Regions from separate parts of the Homo sapiens genome. Here regions 2 and 3 are each linked to region 1. The links are contacts of gene promoters, found by promoter capture Hi-C in blood cells and fetal thymus (Javierre and others, 2016). All regions are on one chromosome and are shown on one strand. Each heading gives the region's core, a stretch centred on a gene start or on the middle of the fragment in contact. The rest is flanking DNA. Distances are from core to core; before and after follow the strand shown.

The links. The method cuts DNA at HindIII sites, captures the fragments that hold promoters and counts their contacts. A CHiCAGO score of 5 or more calls a contact.
Region 2: a contact is called between a fragment that was not itself captured here and the fragment with the promoter of ABCA8 in region 1, in 1 of 17 cell types (M2 macrophages). The highest score is 6.3, in M2 macrophages.
Region 3: a contact is called between a fragment that was not itself captured here and the fragment with the promoter of ABCA8 in region 1, in 1 of 17 cell types (erythroblasts). The highest score is 5.3, in erythroblasts.

Annotation. Positions count from the first base shown.
Region 1 is chr17:68,953,670-68,957,161 of GRCh38, reverse strand. ABCA8 (ATP binding cassette subfamily A member 8) reads left to right here and starts at 1,770. Exons shown (of 40, transcript NM_001288985.2): 1 at 1,770-1,943. The HindIII fragment of the contact is 10,640 bases long and covers 1-3,492 here.
Region 2 is chr17:68,789,802-68,793,210 of GRCh38, reverse strand. No RefSeq gene overlaps it. Among named protein-coding and RNA genes, the nearest start is that of LINC01482, 160 kb to the right of the region's middle. The HindIII fragment of the contact is 8,140 bases long and covers 1-3,409 here.
Region 3 is chr17:69,195,900-69,199,566 of GRCh38, reverse strand. It overlaps ABCA10 (ATP binding cassette subfamily A member 10), which reads left to right. Exons shown (of 39, transcript NM_001377321.1): 11 at 2,445-2,503. Among named protein-coding and RNA genes, the nearest start is that of ABCA10, 31 kb to the left of the region's middle. The HindIII fragment of the contact is 5,558 bases long and covers 1-3,667 here.

The DNA.
Region 1 (3,492 bases), core at 521-3,020:
AGCAAGAGATCATGACTTTTTATTGGGGTGATGGAGACCATGTTGAGCCTCTTACTCCTCTATTTCTTCCCCTTCTGGTTATATAGTTACTGAGCAGCACCCTTGTTGACCTCCTTCCTATTTTGTCTGTATATCATAGTAAGGTTTATATATTTCACTTAAAATGAAGAAATATTAATTCTGGGTAAAGCATGTCAAGTTAAGTATGTCTTTTGTAATCCTGAGAGTGACCACTAAAATAACTATACAAATAGATACAGTTAAGAAACATAATAGATACGTTGAAATGCAATACCAAAAAATAATTTCAAATAACCAACAAGAAAGCAGAAAATGGGAAATAGGAGAATTAAAACCAGAGAGAAAAGAAGCAAATAACAAAATGGCAGATCTGATTTTAAAAATCAATAGCTACATAAAATGAAAATAATTTAAACACACCCATTAAAAGATGTGCATTGTCAAATTGGATTTTAAAAACCAAACTCATGACTCTATTATATGCCATCTACAAGAAACTCACTTGAAATACAATTTAGAGCTGGGTATAGTGGCATGTATCTGTAGTTTCAGCTACTCAGGAGTCTGAGATGGGAAGATCACTTGAACCCAGGAGTTCAAGTCCAGCCTTGGCAACATAGCAAGACCATCATCTTAAAAAAATAATAACAAACACAGACGCACACACACACATACACACACACGCATACACATATAATATGAATGTGATGTTTGGCAGGGCCAACAGAATTGAGATCATAACTGCCACTCTGAAAGCATATAGTGTGTGTGTGTGTGTGTGTGTGTGTAGATAAAAATAAACGGATGAAAACAAAATACCACGAAAACAATAATCACAGGAAAGTAAGAATGGCTATATTATTAATATGAAACAAAGTAGACTTTAGAACACAAAAGTTACTAGAGATAAAGATTAACATTACATAATGATAAAAGGGTCAATTCACCAAGAAGACATAACAATTCCAAATGTTGCAAAATACATCAGGCAAAACATGATAGTTTTAAAGGGAGAAATTTGAAAGTCCCTAAGTTTTGTTAAAATCTTCAACATTCCTCTCTTAGTAATCAACAGAACTAGGAGACAGAAAATTAGGAAAAATATAGAAAAAACTGAACAATATCATCAACCAACTAAATGTAATAGATATTATATAATATTCCACTCAACACCAAAAAACTATACAACTTTTCAAGTGCCTATGGAATATCTGCCAAGATAGATCATATCCTGGGTCATCAAATAAGCCTTAACAAATTTGACATACAAAATATTTTTTCTGAGTATAATTGAACTTCTGATTTAAAATTAAATCAATAACCAAAAGATAAGAAAATCTTCAGACACTTGGAAATTAAGCACATTTCTGATTAATCCGTGGGTCAAATAAATTGGAAAATAGTCTGAACTGAGTGAAAATGAAGCTGGGAAGCAGAGGAATGAAAATTTTGATTATCTAGGTAAAGCTGTCAATTAAGCAGACTAGAGCTCTGGGTAGAGAGAAGAGCTTTTCTCTGATTAAGCTGTTTACTTTCTCATGGCTTAAAGACAGCACTTTAAATTTTGGTATTAGCCACAATAATCTTGGACGTAAAAGAGAAATTGCTCCCTATAATATGATATAGCCAGGCAACCCAGTATAAATGCCACTGCTCTGCAGGAACTGGCCGAATATCAATGAGAAGACAAACAGTCCAAGCATGATGACGTGAATGTGATGTTTGGCAGGGCCAACAGAATTGAGATCATAACCTCCACTCTGAAAGCAGTCTTCACAGAAACTTTTCACAGAAGTCAAATAGTTAAAGCAAATTCTAGATACATGGTAGAGACCAGGAGAAAATATGAATAACTTTCTTCTAAACAAGGAGCTCAGTGGATAAACCATACCTCTAGATTCCTTGCTTCCATTTTCCCAGAAGTAAGTTCACTGTATTTTTTCTGTTTTGTTTTGTATTTTGCTTTTGTGTGTGAGTTTGTTTCAGAGGTTTTGTCTTTTCTTATTCCTATCACAAAATTATAAATAAACCTTTATAAACTGAATGACAATCATCTATGCAGAAATTATTTTGAAAAATATTGGGCTACTTTAAAGATTTTATATCTGGTAATTAATATTAGATAAATAAAAACATTGAGTTAGAATGTTTTTTAAAAAATTATGCAAACATTATGTTGTTTTAAACATAACTGAGTGTAGAAATAAGTTTAAATTGGCTAAAAATTTTTTGTGAAGAGCTTAGAGTTTTAAGAATTGGGTTGGAAGACTGAGTTGTTTTTGAAGTTAAAGTTATCTACTTTGATTGCACAATAATGTAGGGCATTTTGGATAAGTGTTCTTCTGACTTTAAGACTGTTTACCAAGAGCACTTACAGAAATATTTTTATTGTTCCTATCGCTCACTCTTAGTCTATAAGAATTTTAGAAATGTAAGATTCTTTCTAGGATCTTTTACTCGTTGGATACAGTGAGTTGAATCAGAATGTGAAATATGTAGCTTCTCTTTACCACAATGTTATTTAAAATGTACATTGGTAAAAAGAATTTTCATACTCCTATAGTGAATACATGTTGTTCTGAATTTTACAACAGTATAAGAGGATAAAAATGAGTCATTACAATTTGAGACTATTTGCCATATGTATAATAAAGTATTCATGTTTTTGCTAGCCTTTACATAAACTGCAGAACATACAAAAATTGGAAAGAAACAAAGTTGGCAATAATACTTTACGATGGAAGATATAAGGGATTGGAGTCAGACTGGAGTTTGCATGCTACCTAAGACTGTAGCTGATTCCATAGTGAGGAGATCATCCTCTTGGCCAATGTCTATTAACTTCGCCAGTGAATTATGCATTTCTGTAGAGAAGCTGTGATATATTTGGGCTTGTGCATGAGGTGGAGTGTAGGGAAACATCACACTCTGGGGACTGTTGTGGGGTGGGGGGAGGGGGGAGGGATAGCATTGGGAGATATACCTAATGCTAGATGACGAGTTAGTGGGTGCAGCGCACCAGCGTGGCACATGTATACATATGTAACTAACCTGCACAATGTGTACATGTACCCTAAAACTTAAAGTATAATAATAAAACGAAAAAAAAAAAAGAAATTCCTCCTGTACAGAGCTTGCATTGGCGGCAGCTGCTTTAAGAACCCAGAAACTTTTGCCCTCTCTGTAGGCTAGCTCACTGTGAAAATATCCCATGGATTTTACCTAAAATTGCTTACAGAGAGCGGCATTATACTTCTATAGATAATTGCATCAGTAACCAGAGAGGAGAAGTACAGCAGCAGACTACCCTCTACCCCCGGTAGGAGTAGTAGCACATCACAGTTTCAGCAAGTTCAATCTTGAGCAAAGAACATGATGTGATTGTTTGTGGGTATGTCTGTATACGGAGTGTGATTTTAGGTAAGGAGAGCCTTGCACAGCTCTCTTAAAAGTATCCATGCTGAATTTTCT
Region 2 (3,409 bases), core at 524-3,023, 160 kb after region 1:
CTCAGAGGAAGTTGTAGGAAACCTCAGTGTGTCTGAGATGACCTGCAGCAGAGGCCATGCAACAAGGTCCCACCCCTGGGGACCTGGAGATGTCACCTGATAATTACGGTTTTGGTGAATAGTGATAAAGATGCCAAAAACAGTTTTACCAGCAAGCATGACTACCTAGCAATAGGATTAGACCTGTGGTAACTTTGTAACTTTGGTCTGATGTCATAGTTTTGTGTGTGTGTGTTTTTTTGTTTGTTTGTTTGTTTTTGGTGTGACCGGAGTTAGTAAAAGCTGAGAGAAGTAGAAAGATGAAATAAAACAAACAGTCCAAGGTTACCCTGCAAAAATTAACTCCAAGCCTGAGAATCAGTATGCAGAAAAAATAGCAACGTGTATAGTGTCAATTTCTTTTTGTCAGCTCCAGTTTATGAGAAGAAAATGATGGTAAAGAGTATAGCTAAAATTTTGGTCTTCTTTCAAGGTTTGCCATGTAGATAAATGTGTCTAGGAGTTTGTAAACCACAAAACAACAGGGAAACTCAATCCTCAAAACCTTCCATTTACAAATGAAAGCCTTCTCTTTACAGGGCTTACAGAAATAACCATACAAAATTAGCCACTTACTGTTATTTATAACCACATGGAATATGGCAAAATAATTTTGGCTTGATTCTTATTCCTGTTTATACTGATAATCCCAACTGCCATATATTCAAATTCCAGATAGATGAGGCACTAGAGGTCTTATGGAGTCTCTTTCTCTCTTTTCCTTTTTCCTTACCCAGTACTTTTTTTTTTTTACCCTTTCTCCTTGTAGTTCTGTGTGAAATATAAAACAATTTTTGAAAATGATGAAACACCCTGCATAATTAGATTTCATCATTTGTTCTCTTGCTTCTTTTGCCCCTCATTGTATAACAATTGCAGATCCTTTCTTTTCCTGAAATCATTATGTTTTCCCCCACTCCCTTACGTTACGCAATAAACTTGGAGTGATATTAACGTCTTGTTTTGAAATGAGGGAGAAAGAATAGAAAAAAAATGTCAAGGGCTTTTGGCTTTCTTAATGCCTTGTAGAGCATTTAGTGTTGTTCAATGCCTCATTTGATTCTCAAAAATATTAATCAAGGGTAACAAATGAGATGCCTTACTCAGAATGTGAGGACTAGCTCAAGAAACTGCCCAGCAACTGAAGTGAGTGCATTGGCTATGCACCTTGTTACCAGAATCTTTCTGCTGAGCTTGGAATTTAGTGTTTTGCACATTTCTTCTAACCTGGACATCTTACGTGGATGTGACTTTTAGTTTAGATTTAGGGAGGACATGTGTAGGTTTCTTATGTTGGCATATTGTGTAATGCTGAAGTTTGGGGTATGATTGATCCCGTCATGCGGGTGGTGAGCATAGTACCCAACAGCTAGGTTTTCAGCCCTTTCCCCTTCCTCCCTCCCCACTTTTAGAGTCTCCAGTATCTATCATTTCCATCTTCGCATCCATGTGTACATCCAGTGTTTAGCTCCCACTTATAAGTGAGAACATGTGGCATTTTGTTTTCTGTTCCTGCATTAGTTTGCTTAGGATAGCGGCCTCTGGATGCATCCATGGTGCTGCAAAGGACATGATTTCATTCTTTTTATGGCTGCATAGCATTCCATGGTGTACATGTACCACATTTTCTTTAGCCAGTCCACCGTGGATGGGCACCTAGGTTGATTCCATGTCTTTGCAGTTGTGAATAGTGCTGTGATGAATGTACAAATGCATGAGTCTTTTTGCCAGAAGTATTTATTTTCCTCTGGGTATGTACCCAGTAATGGGATCACTGGGTTGAATGGTATTAATAGTTCTGTTTTTAAGTTCTTTAGATGCTGATTTCTTGCAGCTGTTAATATATTTTTAGACTTTTGAAAGCGATAGCCAAAAAATACTTCCTCTTATCTCTTAATGATCCACATTGCAGCTTAGAGTCCAGTGGTCCACACGTTAATGTTACATAAGCTGATGGCTCTGGCCCATTTTGAGCTGTTGAGATGTCAGATAGGAGTAATATAACTATCTCTGCCAGAGGTCACTCTAGGATTCCTGGCAGATTGAGCGATCAACTGTGCGGGGTGGTCCAAGACTGAAGAGGTTCCCAGAACAAAGGACTTTAACTTTTAAAACTGAAAAAGTTCCAAGCAAACCAGATGAGTCTGCCCTGACTCAACCCACAGTGGGTGTCCGAGTCTGTGCCGTATGATGGTGCCCTGGGTCTGCCACAGCCTTCCCCTTTCCAGTTTCTCATCCCTTGTTACCCTTATTCCCACCTTTGAATACGAGCCCCTCTAGTCATTTATCATTTCCTTTCACAAACTTTCAAATCCTCAACCCCAAACACAGAGCTGAACTAGGATGTTGGCTAATCAAGGTGAAGGTCTGAGATGGATGGGGATGTCTCTACTTAACCACCTTGCTGCTGCAGACCTCACTCAGTTAACTGTGAACACATCTCTTACCAGCATTGACCGGGCCTCATTGCTGTCTGAGAGGCAAGTTTCCAAAATCTGATTCACTTTTGAAACCTATGTGAGTTTCCTGTAGGGCCCTCCCCACTGCCCAATTTCCTAACATAAGAGATAGAACTTCCAGCCCAGTTTCTGCCATTAGCAATCCGTGCATCCCACGGCCTCTTGCTACTGGCAACCCCTCATCCTAAGGACAGCTCTTGTGGGAGTCAAGATGGTGCAAGCCCAGTTGACTTCCTTGGTGGCCCACCACATGACCTGTGGAAACACTGCAGACCCTTGGCACAAAATGGATGGGAGTACAGCTGCTCTTCCCTCATGCCTCTCCCCACCCTACCAGTTTGTTCTAATCCTCTTCTTCCTTAGGAACAGATCAGCAAATGCAGTGTCTAAGCAGAAATCCAGTTAAGGAAAGGAAGGCAAGTGCTCCCTTCTGGGCATCACCCTCCCTATCATCTTTATTACAGATTCTCTTGGAAACTCTCTCCCTCTCCCATTCTTGGATGTAGTGAGGGGAGGGAAAAGGGGAAACCTCTCACTACAAACTCTGCATTTCCCATGTGGCCAGTGACAGGATCCTTCCCCATCTCCTCAAGAGTGGGGGGCTAAAATAAAATTAAATACCTAGGAATTAACTTAACCAAAGAAGTGAAGGATCTCTATAATGAAAACTATAAAACACTGATGAAAGAAACTGAAGAGGAAACAAAAAAATGGAAAAAGATTCCATTTTCATGGATTGGAAGAATCAGTGTTGTTAAAGAACACTGTTGTTACTCAAAGAAATCTACAGATTCAATGCAATCCCCATCAAAATACCAATAACATTCTTCACAGAAATAAAAAACATCCTAAAATTTATATGAAACCAAAAATGGCCCAGAATAACGAAAGCTATTCTAAGCCAACAGAAA
Region 3 (3,667 bases), core at 874-3,373, 240 kb before region 1:
AATTGTGACAGTTCTAGCCTGTCTAAACCTGCATACAGTGTCATCCACCTTGATATTCCCTCTATATGTACCTAGAGATAGAGGGAACATCCTATAGGAAGTGGCCTAACATGCCTGAAACCAGGAACTCTTTGATCATTCTGGACCAGACTGTTCCTATTGACAAATTAATTACTTTTTTAACTTATTCATCATTAATCAGTCCCTCTGCTAGAATTAGGATACAGAGATTAATGATAGTCTTTAACCTCAGGAAGTACAGAGTCTAAGGAAATAGATACTAAAATAGATAACTGATAAGTAGTAGAGCTGAACACAGAGAATTAAAAGAAATAAAGAAGGATCATCCAACCTAGTGTAGTGTAGTGGGGAAAGTCAAAAGGAGGTGACTCTTAAGGTGAGTCTTATGAAAGAGAAAGGTCTTGGTCATATAAAGTATGGTGGGGTATGTGAAGGTCCTTCCACACAGGGGATATGGCATAAGCCACCTAGTAGAGCAAGACACAGTGTGTATGTATAGGGAACACAAGGAACTAACATTTCTGACCTTAAAGTACAAGAAAAGAGAGAGGTTAACTTTAAGAGGTAGGCACCAAATCTGATCATGGAAGATTTTGCTTGCCAAGGTAAGGAGATTAGGCTATCCTGTATAGTGTGGGGAATCACTGAATGATTTTAAGGAGGCAAATTAGGTAACCAGAACTTTGATAGATCACTTTGGCAGCTTTATGAAGAATGGATTTGAGGGTGACACAACTGGAGAAATGGAAATATTTACGATATTTTACCAGTCTAGGTCTGGTCAGGAAAAGTGAGTTGCTGGAAATATTGTGGGAGTAAAGGAGTTTAATACAGGGATTAGGGATTCACAAATGTACAAGAGTTAGAGGAGAGAAGGTTAAGTTACAACCAGAAAGTCAGGAAATAGCCACTGAGGACCTTAGCCTGATGCACAGAAATGGGTGTTTTTCAAGAAGTTTGTCAGTATACTGCTGCAAATGTCAGGGATTTTCTGGGAAATCTCTCACCAGTTATCTCAATCTGCAGTAGCAAAGCAGTCCTTGTCAAGAAGTCTGAGAAGCTGCTGCAAACCTCGAGCCTGCGTATATGCTTGGCTCACGTGACCCGAGAATAATGACCTTGCTTCATTTCTGCTCTCCAAATCTTGCCCAAGTTCTTCTCATTAGCAAAATCTGATACTGAAAAGAGGGTTCCGTGAAATGTAGTCTCTGATATGTCCTCCGCATTGCAGAAGGAAAGAGACTGTTGCTGATAGACAAGGGACAATTAAAAATAAAGCACAGAGGTCATAGCCCTGGTTGAGGTGAAAGATGACAAGAGCCTGGGCAAGAAGGCACAAGAAAAGTAGTAAAGAGATAAATTCAAATAGATTTATAAAGTTAAATTCATAAATTCTTGAAGTTAAATTGTAATAATTTTGTAGGTCACAGGATGGGGTGAAAAAGGGAGAGAGAGAGAGTTAAGGATGCCTCTCAGGCTCTTAGCTTGAGTTCCTGGGTAGATAGTAGAAATTCTAACTGAGATAGAGAATGGAAGTGGGCCAGTTTAGAGGAAAATATAATGCGTTCAGTTTGATATCCAAGTGTAGATATATAGTAAAAAGCAGAATATCTGAAACTTTGAAGAAATCTCTAAAACACAAATTTGGGAATCATTAGAATTTAGGTAGGAGTTGAAGCCATGAGAGTGGGTAAGATTGTATGGCAAAGGTTTGAGAATAAGAAAAATAGTTGGCCAAGTATAAAATCCAATTTAAGGAGTCCATAAAGTACGCCAAAACGGAATAGTAAGAGGAAGATGTGGAACCAAAGTGTAGAAGCCAGGGAGTTAGAGACTTAAGAAAACAAAAGAGTGAGTAATAGTTTAAAACAGTGATGAAGTATATCAAATAAGGACTAAAAAGTGTTCATTAGATTTGGTAACTAGAATGGTCATTGGTGAATTTCATTGGGAATAGTTTTTTGTGGAGTAGTATAGTGAGAAGCTATGTTGTCTTAGGTTGGGAAATAAATGTGGGATAAAGCAATGGAAATAGGGAGTAAAGATTATTATTTTGACAAATTTGCCTGTGAAAGATAATGATTGAGAGGGATTCAGGATTGAGGGAAAGCCTCTCTCCCTTTTTTCTTTCGCTCCCTTCCTTCTTTCCTTCTTTTTTTTTTCAATTTTAGCTTTCCCTTATTTATTTGATAACTTAGAGAAATAGCTGGAATATATGAAATGCCAAGTTTGATAAGAGTATTAGCAGGTCTGTGTAAATCTCTTTTGGGAGTGGTCAGGGGAGGGCTTTTATTACTGCCCTCCTTACATCCCACTGAGAGTGATACCCTTTACTGTGAAGTTCAGGCTTAGTTATGAACTGTAATCTGTGTTATTAATACTAGAAAATGCATTTACATGAAAATTACTTCATCTTCTTTCAGAATCAGAAATGTTATAAAAGAATATAATGGAAAGACTGGAAAAGTAGAAGCATTGCAAGGTAAAAAGAAAAACTCCCTCTCCCTCTCCCTCTCCCTCTCCCCCTCCCCCTCCCTCTGTCCACGGTCTCCCTCTGATGCCAAGCGGAGGCTGGACTGTAGTGCCGCCATCTCGGCTCACTGCAACCTCCCTGCCTGATTCTCCTGCCGAGTGCCTGCCGAGTGCCTGGGATTGCAGGCGCGTGCTGCCACGCCTGACTGGTTTTCGTATTTTTTTGGTGGAGACGGGGTTTTGCCGTGTTGGCCGGGCTGGTCTCCAGCTCCTAACCGCGAGTGATCTGCTAGCCTCAGCCTCGCGAGGTGCTGGGATTGCAGACGGAGTCTCGCTCACTCAGTGCTCAGTGTTGCCCAGGCTGGAGTGCAGTGGCGTGATCTTGGCTCGCTACAACCTCCACCTCCCAGCCGCCTGCCTTGGCCTCCCAAAGTGCCGAGATTGCAGCCTCTGCCCGGCCGCCACCCCATCTGGGAAGCGAGGAGCGTCTCTGCCTGGCTGCCCATCGTCTGGGATGTGAGGAGCCCCTCTGCCCGGCCTCCCAGTCTGGGAAGTGAGGAGCGCCTCTTCCCGGCTACCATCCCGTCTAGGAAGTGAGGAGCGTCTCTGCCCCGCCGCCCATCGTCTGAGATGTGGGGAGCGCCTCTGCCCCGCCGCCCATCATCTGGGATGTGAGGAGCGCCCCTGCCCGGCCGCGACCCCGTCTGGGAACTGAGGAGTGTCTCTGCCCGACCGCCACCCTGTCTGGGAGATGAGGAGCGTCTCTGCCCGGCCGCCCCGTCTGAGAAGTGAGGAGCCCCTCTGCCCGGCAGCCACCCCGTCTGGGAAGTGAGGAGCATCTCCGCCCGGCAGCCGCCCCCTCCAGGAGGTGGGGGGCAGCCCCTGCCCGGCCAGCCGCCCAGTCCGGGAGGGAGGTGGGGGGCAGCCCCCGCCCGGCAGCCGCCCCGTCTGGGAGGTGGGGGGCCCCTCTGCCCAGCCGCCACCCGCTCTGGGAGGTGTACCCAGCAGCTCATTGAGAACGGGCCATGATGATGATGGCGGTTTTGTCCAGTGGAAGAGGGGGAAGTGTGGGGAAAGGAAAGAGAAATCAGATTGTTGCTGTGTCTGTGTAGAAAGAAGTAGACATGGGAGACTCCATTTTGTTCTGTACTAAGAAAAATTCTTCTGCCTTGGG